2 separate regions of the Homo sapiens genome follow, and region 2 is linked to region 1. Evidence: promoter capture Hi-C in 16 types of primary human blood cells and fetal thymus (Javierre and others, 2016). All regions are on one chromosome and are shown on one strand. Each heading gives the region's core, a stretch centred on a gene start or on the middle of the fragment in contact. The rest is flanking DNA. Distances are from core to core; before and after follow the strand shown. Region 1 holds the start of SLC9A2 (solute carrier family 9 member A2). Region 2 overlaps IL1R2 (interleukin 1 receptor type 2).

Region 1 (7,117 bases), core at 1,472-3,971:
ATTCACTCAGAGTTTCCACCTCAACTAGTGGGAGTATTAATACCGCCACTCCCTACAGGGCAGGCTTGTGGCATCTGAGTTTATTATTAGAGGCAATTTACAAACATGTGTGTATCTGGTTTATAGGTGGGGAAGCCCATCTCCCTTATACCATCTCTCAGTGGAATTAAGACACTCAACTAGTAGCACCACGTCAAAGCCAGTCAATTACAGACTTCAGAGTTGTTAAATAATATGTGTCTCTCTTAGTCACCACTAATAGACTCTAATTAATCTTATCTGGCATGAAGATTTGCTTCCGGTTTACCTACCACAACTTCCACCCTCCTGTAAACCATCCCTTCTACCTGCTTTGCACTCCTCTCCCAATTTATGTCTTTGTTCAGTCCTCTCTGGAATGTTGCTCCCTTTTCTCTCTAACTGACCAGATCCTGGTCATCCTGGAAAATCCAGTTTAAATGTTTGCTCTGCATGAGGAAGTGTTCTCTGCTTCCCTGCAATGGCATACTATCTTTTCTGAGTTTGTCACCCTACTCAGCACTGTCCTGGGCAATAATCACACAGCGTGTACACGTCTCTCCACTCATCAGTAAGCTCCCTGAGGATGGCAGACAATGCGTCTTTTCATTCTTTATGGAAATCTGCCTCATCTCACAGGGTAAAGACGTAAAACACATGTAATGCATACATTCTTTGGACCTAACAACTTAATCGAATCATTATAACAATAGTTAATATTTCAGGATTTTTCTAAAGTCTTTAAAATATAAAGTAAAAATAATATAAAGCACCATGCTCATAACATGAAAGTTTCTGGGGCGTGGGTAATGAAGATGAGAAAATATATTCTGAGGTTTCTGCTTTCAAAATGAGAGTTAAAGGTAGTATGAAAGTGGGTAATTTTTTTTTTTTTTTTTTTTTCCCTGAGACAAGGTATCTCTCTGTGGCCCAGGCTGGAGTGCAGTGGTGCCATTCATGGCTCACTGCAACCGCAACCTCCTGAGTTTAAGCGATCCTCCTCCCTCAGGCTCCCGCCTCAGCCTCCAAGTAACTGGGAATACATATGTGCACCACAACACCAGGCTACCTAATTAATTAATTAATTGATTGATTAATTTTTGAGACAGAGTCTTGCTTTGTTGCCCAGGCTGGAGTGCAGTGGCAATCTCGGTTCAATGCAACCTCCGCCTCCTGGGTTCAAGCAATTCCCTCCCTCAGCCTCCCGAGTAGCTGGGATTACAGGCGCCCACCACCACGCCCGGCTAATTTTTTTGTATTTTTAGTAGAGACGAGGTTTCACCATGTTGATCAGTGATCCTCGTGATCCACCTTGCCTCAGCCTCCCAAAGTGCTGGGATTACAGGCGTGAATCACCTCGCCCGGCCAATTTTTTATTTTTGTACTGTTTGGTCTTGCTATGTTGCCCATGATGATCTTGAACTCCTGGCCTCAAGGGATCCTCACGTCTGGGCCTCCCAGTGTGCTGGGATTACAGGCTGGGCCATTGTCCTGGGCCCAGAGTTAATTATTTTTAAATATGCATCTCACCTCACTGGCCTCAGCCACCCCGAAGCAAAAGCTTCCTGGAGAGTGACAGCCTCAACCCAATAGAGGGAGGAGAAAGGGCGTTCCTATTGCAGCTGCAAGCACTCAGGTGTCCCTGGTCCCCTTCCATGCACCTCATTAGTCAGGCGCACAGCAGGGTCTGTGTCACTGCCAAGGCGCCTCTCTCCTGTAGCATCCAGGGTTTTAACCACATTATGCATAGCTCCGGGGTTCGTCGGCACCTCTCTCCCTGCAGGTGAGACTGGTACACTTCAATAAACAGATCTCACTCAACTTAAGCAGAGAGCTGACAAACTTGGCGTTCCGTGCGGCAGAAGTAAGCAGCAATCGCTGAGTTTGTAGAACTTACACTTGGGGCCATTTCAAGGCCAATGTTCCCTTAAGAACCAAAACGCGAAACTGCTCTTCCAAGGGTCCTTTTCAACCAGAAGAAGCTGCTCCATCTGTCGTCCCTGCCCTGATTCAAGATGAGGCGGTCACTATCTAGAGGTCAGCTGGCTGACCCGGTCACCCTCCAGGTGTCCCCCCGAGATCGCCCCCTCCCATTCCCCACAAGTCCAGTTCGCTCACCAATCTTGGCCAGGGAGGCCAGCAGGATCCAAAGGGTGATCTCGAAGGGGATCTGCACGTGGGGGTAATCCAGCGTAAACACAGGCAGCCGGCTCTCCTCGAACAGCGTCGTTCCGGGAGCCACCACGCTCGCAGGGCTAGGCGGGCTGGAACTGGTGCCCATGGCCCTCGGCGCGTTCAGCAAGGTCTCCGCCAGGGCGCCCACGGGCCCCGCCACCTGCAGGAGCAGCAGCAACAGCATCGGAGGCAGTGGCGCCCGCAGGCTCCTCCAGTTGCCCAGTGGTTCCATGGGTGCCGCCGGTTGCCGCCAAGGGGACCGGCGGTTGGCCCTCCGAGCGCTCAACGCATCGCGCCCGGGCTGCTCAGCCCGCTCCGCCCTGCCCCGTGCAGGGCAGGGCAGCGACAGCCACCCGCCGCTGCTGCGGCACCGGGTCTCTGCAACCAGAGGGCTAGGTCCTCGCTGCGAGCAGGCGCACTGCCTGGCGAGGCACGTGCAGGGCGACGAGAGGCCGCTGCGCGTACCCTCAGCAGCCCTCAGCCGCCCTCCGCCGCCGGCCGCCTGCCCATGCCGGTGCGCTGCTCTCCAGCCGCAGCGGCAGGCCCTGCCCAGGGCGGCCCGCGGGCGGGGGCGGGGCGGGCGCGGCGCCCAAGCCGCAGGGCAGGAGGACAAGGGGACCTGGCCGGCACACCGCGCACCTGCCCGAGCCCGCGGGGAACGCGGGGCCCCAGTGACCGCGGGGGCGATGGCTGCCCTCCCTTCGCGCAGGCACCGCGCGCCAAGACCCGCCACCCCCAGAGCCAGCGAACTGTGGGTGGAATCGCCGCAACGGGCGCATGGTGGCCGGAGCTGTCTCCGCCCCGGAGGCAGCGTCGGACGTCCATCCAGTGAAGGAACCAGCGCGACCCACGAGTCGCGCCCTTCCCTCCTCCCCCGCCCCCGCAGGCTCCTCCAAGGGGACACCCCGGTGCGCTGGGCGCGCGGGGAGGCGCCACAGGCTCGCGGTCCGGAGGAGAAGCCCGGGCCGGTGGAGGAGGAGTGCTGTCACCCCAGCCTGGCGCTGCGGAGGCCAAGACAAGGCATGGGATTCTCTGGACGTACAGAAAGTTTAGGAAAGCCAAATTTTGTTTCCTTTCCGAGAGTTATCAACTCGCGCACAAGGTGCTCTGAACAGGGAAACTCCCTGCGCGGAACTCAGTGTTCCCACGCCCCCACGGAATCGGAATCCTGTTCTCTCCTCTTGCCACATTGTGCTGCTTTCACCCATTTGCTACACTGTCGCTGCCACTTTTCTTCTCCCTCCCCCAGCTCACGTAAAAAAAACCAAAACATCTTTCTCCGCTTTTAGGCTTAGAGGTGTACATGTCCAAGAGCATAAGAAATATAATTATTTCATGGAAAACCAGTGATTTGCCTCGCTCAGATTGACTTGCTCCGCTAATTACAGGACAGGCTGTGGTCAGGAAAAGAAAGGAAGCGTGATTCTTCTTCTGGATCTAAAAGGGCTTTCTCATGCAGAGCCAACCTTTCCTGTCCTTCAGAGCGCCTCCTTCACTGGTTGCGATCTCACTGTTTGAGCATCTTTATCGCCAGAAACCGAAATGAGCACAAAGGGGACTAGTTGCCATTCAATTAACTGAAAGTTTTCCCTTTGATATTTATGAAATAAAATCCTTCTCTTTTCTTAATCTTTGATGTGTCAAAACACGTGGCTTCTACTATTAAACAAACACCAGGCAGTTCGACCTTCAAAGCCGTTTTTTTTTTTTTTTTCTTTCAAAGTTCTAACATAGAAAATCAGTGAGATGTCAGCAGAGGGTACAAGAAAAAAAAATCCTCCACCTGCATAGAAGAAAATAAGGAACAGTCCTCTTTGGGTCTTCAAAGTAATGGAGGGACAAGTCCAGGCTAAAAAGAGAGAAGAATTCTGGGAGATGTTACAGAGCACTACTTCATTTGATATTTCACAAAGCATCAGTTTTTCAAAAGCGCTACAGAATTGAAACTAAAGATATTATCTTGAGAAGAATCATTGGGCATCCAAAACTCAGCCTCCCCTTCTCCTTTCACTGGAAACGTTTATTAAAGGTATGTGCCTAACATACCCCTGTGAAAAGGCAGCAAATAAGAGATTTTTAAATTTTTTGAGTATCTGTCTCTACATGGGAAGCTCAATACAAGGCACTTTACTTGCATTTTTTTGTCAATCGTAAAAATCCAAAGAGGCAGATATTTTTTACCCATTTTATAAGTGAAGAAATATAGTGTAGAAATGTGTAAAAATAAACAAATAGACTTAATCAAGTTTACATATTAAGTAAGTGTCTGGATGGAATTCACACCCAGGCCTGCCCAGGCTAACACTGGTATCATCTCACCCTCTACCCCATGACTAGTTGCCCATAAACAGCACGCTATATTCTCAGCTACTTTAAAATAAGCAGTGGAGAATATTACAGGGATTGTTCAAAAAAGTTACAGCAGGATAAAGTTTTGGTAAGTGAATCAGGCAGTTCTACAAACTTAGTGACATAGTAATAGGGAGAGGGCACATTTAGACAATACTTTCTAGGAGTTTGTCACACAACACTTTTAAGAATAATTGTGTATCATGAACAAGAAAATGAATGACAAATCTGTTTCCGGGCCCTCACTGCCTGTAAACCTTATGTGGTATCACTTCAACTTTATACATCTATGCTACTGCAGTTAAAGGCTATCCACTTTTTTTTACATTTGAAAAAAAAGTCGTTTTATTTATTCTTGTAAATGGGAGGCGAAGAAATTAGTCTAAAAAGACATTCTTTTCATCTTTCCCTTAAAGCAAATTTAAAAAGAGTTAAATTATGCCCCTATGCTGAGAGCGACTTGGCCTGGCTATTTCTTCAAAGTGCCCTCTGACTAGGAGCTCAGCCGTGAAAGTGATAACACCACCCATGGGATGACTGAAGCAAGAAGCGAAACGTGTGTACACATTTAAAATCCTTTAGTGGTTTCTTAGCGACCTTTGGACGTCTCACCTGGTAGCTGAATTTCTGGACTAATTGGGGGGTCTTCTTTTATGCCCTTTGATCTCCCATAACTTTTCAGCACTTAATCATTTTGCTTTTCTCCCACTGAACATCTCTGTGAAGGTATTGGTCTGTTTAACTCATTCTTTTATCTTTAGCTCCTAGCATATTGCCCGGAGACAGTGAGTACCCGCTAAATATGTGTTGGACGAATAAATGTATGAATTGACGGTGAAATCAACAACTCTCACACACTACGGATCTGAGCTGCAGGGCTTTCTCACAGTTAGGCCAGTTGCAGGATGGACATGAATTCTCCTAGTTTTACATGAAATGTTTTCTCCAGTGATCCCTCATTCACATTTTGGCATCTCTCATGTCTTTTTTCCCCCTTCTACCCAAATGATGTGTGAATTTAATCACATTACAAGATTTCTAAATATTTTTAGAAATTATAGTTACCTGATTTCAGATTGACTTTCACATAGCATAGAAATATTTACTAGGAATTTATGAACCTTCTAAGGCAAATGCGTACTTTTCTCTGCACTTTGCTCAAGAGTGGTCCATTAGAATATTACTGTATTTAATGGAATACTTTAATAGGAGTAACTCTCCTGAATTATACAGCCATCAAGCAAGAGAGTAGATCTGGCATCACTAGGAATCACAAAGGATTTTGGAATACTTCCTGGTACAAGGGAAAGAAACTAGTAAGATAAAGCTGAGTTAGCTTAAGAGGACATGCACCTTAAAATATAAAACTGTGAGCTGTGCAGAGGAGATTAGGATCCTGACCTAACCCAGGACTGATCTTAAATCCCCCGCTCCTGCACTGGAAACTTCAGGAGGAACTGAGGTTTAACTTTGTGTCTCTTGCCATACAGAACTTAGAGCTTACTGAAGAGTTGTAGAATGTTGAAACCTCAGGAACTTCTGTATGAAGGAGCAGGTAGAGGTCTCTGCATGCCAGCAAACATATTCTTCACAACTCCAAAAGGTTTAATGTGCTATCTGTCTTTTTCAGATGCAGAGTGGAAGCTGACACAGAGGAAGGGAACTGCTCATTAGTGGCAGTAGCTCTTCTGCACCACAGTGCGGCGCCAGAGGTTAGCACCTCCCTTAGAAGCTAGCATGCAGGAGCAATGTATGCTCTATCAAGAGACAGAGACCAGGGAACGGCTCCATCCTCAGATACCAGTGTAATAGTCGCAATAGTTACTAATAATAGTTAGATATTAATATGTCATACTATTCTTTGCACATTTTTATAATATTCATATTTTATATTCCCCTTTCTTTAAAATGTGCATTGCACAACCACTAGCCATTAGTTGTGTAATATATCAATTGAGAATCTTTGCCTATAAAAAGTTGACTCTCATAATACTGTTGATTTGGTTATTTTATTATTATATTTGAAAGTTCTCAATGTTTAAACTACTTTCTTTTTTTAAGAGACTTAATTCTCAGCAAAAATCTAAGGACTTCTTCTTAGAGAGCAGTCATGCAGTGGCGTGAACATTTTACTGATGCCCACAGAATTAATACTTTCCTCTCTTTCTTTTTGGCCAAATATATTTGTTTCAGCAGAGAAATGTTTTGCTTTATGAAAAGGTACTTTCTGCAAATTCAAGCTTATAAATAATCTTGGTACTTTTTTGTTGTTGTTTGGTTTTGTAGAGATGGAGTCTCACTGTGTTGCCCAGGCTGGCCTCAAACTCCTAATAATTCCTGGACTCAAGTGATCCTTCCTTCTCAGCCTCCTAAGTAGTTGGGACTAGAGGCACACCACCACACCCAGCTAACAGTGCTACTTTTAATGTTGAATCCTCCTAATATATTTAAGCTAAGAGTCAGCTTTCAGATATCCAACCACCAAGTTTTTCAGTGCTTTGGTTTTCCTCCATAAAATAAGGGACTTGGGGACAAGTAACTTTATGTTTCTTTATAAAAGGTTTTAAAAATTTAA
Region 2 (7,117 bases), core at 2,106-4,605, 610 kb after region 1:
AGAAATGTGATAAAAGCTTACCACTTGAAAGTAAGAAGAATTAATTTAAATATATGAAGCCAATATCTGTTTATATTTAGCTTAAAAAGGGAAAATAGATGAACAAATATTATATTTTGTGCATAAAGAAATACAGAATGTTAACTCTCACCTTGAAAAATGCGTAATGTCACTACATGTTGAATAAAGGCAACTGAGGACAAATCTAAAGACCTGGGCCTACTTGAGTAACAGTCACACAGCAGGTAGCCAGCAGCGAGTAGATGCAGGCCAGACCCTGTGCTGTGTACTTTGCACACGTTATTTCACTTATAGTCCAGCCCCCATGAAGTAGGAATTACTATTATATCATTTTTATATGAAAAAGGTAGGTGTACAGAAATTAAGTGGGCTGTACAGCTACAAAGAGGTCAAACCAAAATGGGAAGCCCAGCAAGGCTCTGGGAAAACCCATAAATCTATCTTCAGTACCCATAAGTACTATCTTCAGAAACCAAGCTTAGTAGACATATTGAAAGTTACAAGGCTGTTCACATTATTGATCTGGTAATTCCCCTTGAGCAAGAAACTTCATAAAAATAACTCAAAAGAAAGAGAAGGGTGAGGGGCAATTTGATCACCACTTGCACTCCCCATGTAGTGTGGCACCCCCATGGCAAAGGCGTGATAGTCATTCGTAGTGCTGCTCACCAAATAGGCCCAGTTCTCCCTATTCTGAGCACATGGTGTATCACATGTCCTCGTCCCCACTGTGGGGACTCTTCCTAGCTCATGAGTTATATGTGTGGCCCTTCTACATGAAAGTTGTAACAGCCATGAGAGACCCTCCAAAGCAGGCTTCCTGCTCTAGCAACCAACCAATAACATTTGAAATAGTGACTGTGACTGCTCCTTCAGCCTAAGTCCCTAACTGTCTGCAAACCCACAATGGACCTGTTGCATGTGTAAGAAATAAGCCCTTGTTATTTTAAGCCACTGAGATTTAGGAGCTATTTGTTACAGCAGCATAACCTTGACTGCCTACTCTTTCTCTTTTTTTTTTTTTTTCTTTTTCTTTTCCTTCTTTTCTTTTCTTTCTTTCCTTTTTTTTTTTTTTTTTTTTTTTTTTTTGCAGTGATAGAAAGTAAGGCATTTATTTGCAGAGCACCAAGCAAGGAGGCCCAGGCAGCTACTGCTCAAATCTTGGCCTCTCTGATGGCTTGCATCCTTGCCTACTCTGACTCACCACGTGGTTCTAGATCACAAGGTCTTAAACAATCATGAGAACAGGGCAGTCTCTTGCCTCATGACTATCAACGCTAAAGAGTATTATGGCAACTGCTGGTGATTCTCACTCAATTAGAATCCCAATCTTACAGTTGACAAAGAGTATTAAAGGTCAGCCAGGTAAACCTTCCCATCATGCAAAGAAAGTTTGACATACACTGGGATTTCCACTGCCCCCTCAATCTCAGCTTTTTTTTTCCTACAAAAATTGATCATAAAAGCAAACTTTAAGACAAACAGAACTCAGCTCACATCTCCCTGATTTTTGCACAGTCTCACTTTCAGTAGTCATGAGGATTGCCTTTTGGGAAGGAGAGGGAATTTTTATGTATATATTGACCACCTACCATGGCAGACCCCACGCTAGTTCCTTCACATTCTGTGATCTCACATAACCCTCTCAACAAACTTCTTTACAGGAAAACTAACACCCATAAAAGTCAAGTGATAAGCCCAAGGTCCCACCAGATAGGAAATGAGAGAGCTAAGATTCCCATCTTTCTTTCTGACTTCAGGTTTCATGTTTTCTTACTATGCTATGAAGTTTTCCTAGTAGTACTCCTTAGAGAAAATTAGAATTTTTACTGTGGAAAAGAAAGAAGAAATATGCATTTATAGCTATTGTAAAACCAGGCATCCACATTTTCCTAGCATAAGAATAGAAGATGGTTTGCCTGCTTCTTAGGCAAGGTTCATTGACAGGATTAAACCTGTCCCTAAATTGCTTATAGTTGGGGCTAGACATATGGATGGTAGTGTCAAGCTGGGTTTAATTTGAAAAGATTCTTAATTTCACACATGCACGCACATGCACACACACACACACACACAGAGGGCACCCTCTACCTCATATCTCCTCCCACCCCCCACATACCCTGCCACACACACACCCAGCCTAGGACTGGGGATGACGTGGTCTGAAATTTTTCCATTCACCAGTACTTCCACTGTGCTAAGAATCTCACTTCTCCGGTTCTTTTTCTAAATGTACATATTCCTGGGTACAGTCCTTCTTAAGTCAAATGAGTTTATGAAATCTGGAGACTCTGAAGCCAGCTGGTGGAAGGAGCAAGCAGTGCCTTTGGAGGAACAGAAGAAGCAGCTGAAGAGAGAGGCCAAAACACTAGTTCCCAATCAAGCCAAAGGTTGTCTTAGTTCAGAAGAACAAAGCCAAGGAAGTTTTTATTGGAGGAACAGATGAAGCAGCTGAAGAGAGAGGCCAAAACACTAGTTCCCAATCAAGCTGAGGGTTGTCCTAGTTCAGAAGAACGAAGCCAAGAAACTTTTTAAGATCACCAACACTAGGCCTAAAACTTCATCCATCAAGAAGGAGTAGGACATGTCAAGACCATTCAATGGGGAAAGGACAGTCTTTTCAGCAAATAGTACTGGAGAAAATGGATATCCACATGCAAAAGAATGAAGCAGGACCCTTACCTAACACCATATACAAAAATTAACTCAAAATGGATCAAAAAGCAAAAGAGCTAAAACTATAAAATTCTTAGAAGAAAACAAAGGGGAAAACCTTCATGACATTGGATTGGGCAATGATTTCTTAACACTAAAAGCACAGGCAACAAAAGAAAAAAATAGATAAACTGGACTTGATCAAAATTAAAACCTTTTGTGTAACAAATGACACTATGAACAGAATGAATATGCAACTTAGAGAACAGGAGAAAATATTTCTAACTATATATCTGATAAGGCAAGGGGTTAATAACCAGGAAATGTAAAGAACTCCTACAACTCAACAACAACAGCAAAATGCAGTTTTTAAAATGGGCAAAGGACTTAGAGTCCATAAAGGAGATATGTCTGTGTCTCCAGCGAAGATGCACAGATGGTTAATAAGCACACAAAAAGATGCTCAGCATCGCTAATCATTAGGAACGTGGAAATCAAAGCCACAATGAGAGACCCCTTCACACCCATTAGGATGATTATTATCAAAAATAATAGAAAATAACATGTGTTGGTGAGTATGTAGAGAAATTGAGTGTCGGCACTGTTGTTGGGAATGAAAAATGGTACAGCCACTATGGAAAACAGTATGATAGTTCCTCAAAATTAAATATAGAATTAACAGATGATCCAGCAGTTCCTCTTTGGGGTCTATACCCAGAAGAACTGAAAGCAGAGATTTGAACAGATATCTTCACATCCATGTTCATATTGGATTCACAATAGCTGAAAGGAGGAAGCAAGTCAAGTGTCCCTGGATGGATAAATAGATAAACAAAATGTGGTACATACATAAAACGGAATAATAATATTCCACCTCATAAAGGAAGGAAACTCTGACTCATGCTACAACATGAACGAACCTTGAAAACACTATGCTAAGTGAAATAATTCAGTCACAGAAAGACTGATTTCACTTAAACGATTTAAACGAGGTACCTAGAGTCGTCAAAATCATAGAGTCGGAAAGTACAGTGGTGGTTGCCTGAGGCTGGAGGGAAGAAGAGAGGGGAGTTATTGTTTAATGGGTTCAGAGTTTCAGTTTGTGAGGATGAAAAACTCCTAAAGATGGATAATGGTGATGGTGCCACTGATCTGTACACTAAAAACTGTTTAAGATGATAAATTTTTTGTTATGTGTATTTTTTCTACAGTTAAAGGGGAAGAAAGCAACAGGACAAAGAGGGAGGAGGACTGGACCCAGGGTCAGGAGACTCGGGCTCCAGAGTCAGCTCTACCACGCACCACCTGGGGAACTTTCCAAGCCAGCTTGGTTCCCTCATCCTTACAACGAGCAGTTGGACTAATTTTTTTTTTTTTTTTTTTTAGACAGAGTCTCGCTCAGTCGCCCAGCCTGGAGCGCAGTGGCTCGATCTCCGCTCACTGCAAGCTCCATCTCCTGGGTTCACGCCATTCTCCTGCCTCAGCCTCCTGAGTAGCTGGGACTACAGGCGCCCGCCACCATGCCCAGCTAATTTTTTTGTATTTTTTTAGTAGAGACGGGGTTTCACTGTGTTAGCCAGGATGGTCGTGATCTCCTGACCTCGTGATCCACCCTCTTCGGCCGCCCAAAGTGTTGGACTAATTTAATCCTAAGGTCTCACCCAGCTCTAAAATCCTATTCAGAGTAAAATCCTATTCTATGTCTATTTCTTGGTTCCTTACCATGTGGCTTCAACAGTGAACAACATAGACCAAGTCCCTGCCCTTGCAGAGTTTACATTCTAATGGGTAGACAAACATTAAATACAGTAGCGCACACAAATGTGTCAGATGGGAAAATCTTATCGCAAGGAAACTACAGCAGGGTAAGGAGAGAGTGACAGAGGGCGGTGTCAGCTAAAATGGCTAGGGACGTTGTCTCCAAAGAGGTGGCATTTGAGCAAAGACTAAATGGAGACAGAATGAGACTGTAGGGTTGGGGGGGGTGTCAGGAACAGCAAACGGGATGCAATGTGGATTCACTGGATTTGTATTTTGTACACTGGATTCTGAGATCCGGATCATGACTGAAGACCCTCACAAGCCTCCATCCTGCCAGGATCCCCTCCCCAGCCCCGCACAGGGAGACTTACCTAGTAGTGCAGACGTAGGTGCCAGAGTCCTCCTGCAAGGCTGGCAGAAGCCACAGAGCACCGTCCTGGGCCCACATCCGTGTCTCTTCTTCTCCTGGGACCGTCCTAGCAGAGTCATTTTTATGCCATGTCAGGTTGATGCGGGGGCTGACAGAGGCCCACAACCAGTAGGGCACCTGGGGGCACCTCAGGGCTACAGGCTCCCCTTCCAGCCTGAACTCCCGCTTGTAATGCCTCCCACGAAACCGGCAGCTTCTGGCAGCCCCTGAAGGACAGAGAGCCCATGGTCAGGCTTTGGGTCCAAAACTTGCTCAGATCATAAAACCTCCCTGCACCTGGGACTGATCCTGATTCTGGCAGGGAAACCTGGAGCACATTTGAGAAAGATGTCATTTGTCCCTAACAAAAAGACCTACACCCTGGGGTACTATTAAACTCCCTCCCTACCCCGTTATTATACTTTCAAAATTTCCAAATAACAAGTTCAGTGCTACTATCCATTCCAACTTATGTTTTGTGAAGAAAGTTAAATCAGGTTTCTACGGTGACAAAAAATTAAAGATTAAAAACTATGGCCATAGTTTTCACTGGCTGATTTCTCATCATTAAAAGTAAATCTGAGCTGAGTTTAGATGGTAAAAGTTTAGTTCTGGCACGTCGTATGGTTAAACTCCAAAGGCAACTTTGTTAAGGGCAAACACGTCACTTCTTCAGTTTGCTCTTTGACAAGCACATTCGCACCATTCTTTCCTTTTCTTTTCTTTTTTCTTTTTTTTAATTTTTCCTTTTTTATTTTTTTGAGACAGGGTCTCACTCTGTTGCCCTGCTGGAGTGGAGTGATGCAATCTCCACTCACTGCAGCCTCAACCTCCCTGGGTTCAAGCACTCCTCTCACCTCAGCCTCCCAAGTAGCCAGGTCTACAGGCACGCACCACCACGCCCAACTACTTTTTTTTTTTTTTTTTTTGTAGAGACGTGGGTCTCTCTATGTTGCCCAAACTGGTCTCAAACTCCTGGGCTCAAGCAATCCACCCGCCTAGGGCTCTCAAGTACTAACATTACAGCCGGCAGCCACCGAGCTCGGCCCACACTTTGCTTTCTGACAAGGAAACTTCTCTAGATAACATCTTTCCCCAGCGAAGCTACAGGCAAGCCTTTTTGCATCTGAAAGGTTTACTTCTAACCTGTGTGTGCCGCAGGCTGAAGGGTGAAGGCAGAAACTCCCATTACCAACACGTACAAGCGCAACATTGCTCCTGACAACTTCCAGAGGACACGGGAAGTGGAGGACTGAGACCCAGCAGCACGTGGCCTAGGGGAGGAAACAGAGGTGTCACCAGGAACCAAGAACCCTGCAGAGAGAATCCCTTGAAGACGGGGTAGGGGCAGGGTCTGGAAGCTTCACTGGATAATGGGAACCTTTTGGCCTACTCTGTTTAAGAACAAAACTCAAAATTTTTGGATTTGTTTCTCTGCAGCTATATTCACTGAACATATCTAAAGTCGAATCCTTGTAGCACCTAGAGGCGTGCTTGGCAGAGGGGCTCTGCCCCATAAGCTGCTGTCTCTGCAGAGACCTCCCTTAGCCATTCCTGCGCCTTGGCCAGAGATGCTGCTTCCTCAGCTAAGGCCACTGCCAGTGCCCTTTCTGCTCGGACTTCACTTTCTTCGTGAGGTCTCCCTCACCTCCCTATCTAAAATTGCACCACCTTTAATCCCAATACTCCATGTTTTCCTTCCCTTCCCTGTCATTCTCTGTGGCATTCATCATCAGCCTTGTCTCCCCTCTCCAGAATTCAGGCTCCACTGATGGAAGGACTGTGAAAGGAAAATAAAAACTTGGGACCCCCAATTCACTCTGCCAAAAGGAAAAAAATAAGCTGAAGTCTGAGTCCTGCAAGAAGCTGCCTTTCCTTTTGTTCCTAAGCAGAGAGCGTACAGATAAAAGATTTTAAAAATTCTCCACAGGTAGCCACTCTATGTTTACCTTATCATATGTGAAGAGCAGATTTACTGAGTATAAGAGGAATATAATTGACTATTCCCTACCTATTTCTTTTCCCTTGCAACACATGGATTCAGTAATGACTGCACCCTCCCTCTCTGCCCTCCAGCCTGCTTTTCAATAGGGGAAAAACTTTACATATTGAAGCCCTCAAAATCATCTTTGGAGAAAGGCACAGACCACAGACTGCTTTTTCTGTGATTCCATGTTTTTTCTCCTGGGCATTGTCCTTAATCTTGGCAAAATAAGCTTCTAAATTATTAAGACTGTCAGATACTTTTTGGTTGACAGAACCCTGCTTTAT

What was found. Contacts are between HindIII fragments. The CHiCAGO score rates a contact against its expected background, and 5 or more counts as called.
Region 2: a contact is called between a fragment that was not itself captured here and the fragment with the promoter of SLC9A2 in region 1, in 1 of 17 cell types (total CD8 T cells). The highest score is 5.6, in total CD8 T cells.

The regions. Positions count from the first base shown.
Region 1 is chr2:102,615,157-102,622,273 of GRCh38, reverse strand. It overlaps SLC9A2 (solute carrier family 9 member A2), which reads right to left and starts at 2,721. Exons shown (of 12, transcript NM_003048.6): 1 at 2,137-2,721. The coding sequence starts at 2,425. RefSeq lists a silencer at 3,004-3,113. The HindIII fragment of the contact is 5,203 bases long and covers 1,582-6,784 here.
Region 2 is chr2:102,007,518-102,014,634 of GRCh38, reverse strand. It overlaps IL1R2 (interleukin 1 receptor type 2), which reads right to left. Exons shown (of 9, transcript NM_004633.4): 2 at 5,993-6,120; 3 at 4,809-5,073. The coding sequence starts at 6,059. Among named protein-coding and RNA genes, the nearest start is that of IL1R2, 19 kb to the right of the region's middle. The HindIII fragment of the contact is 5,709 bases long and covers 501-6,209 here.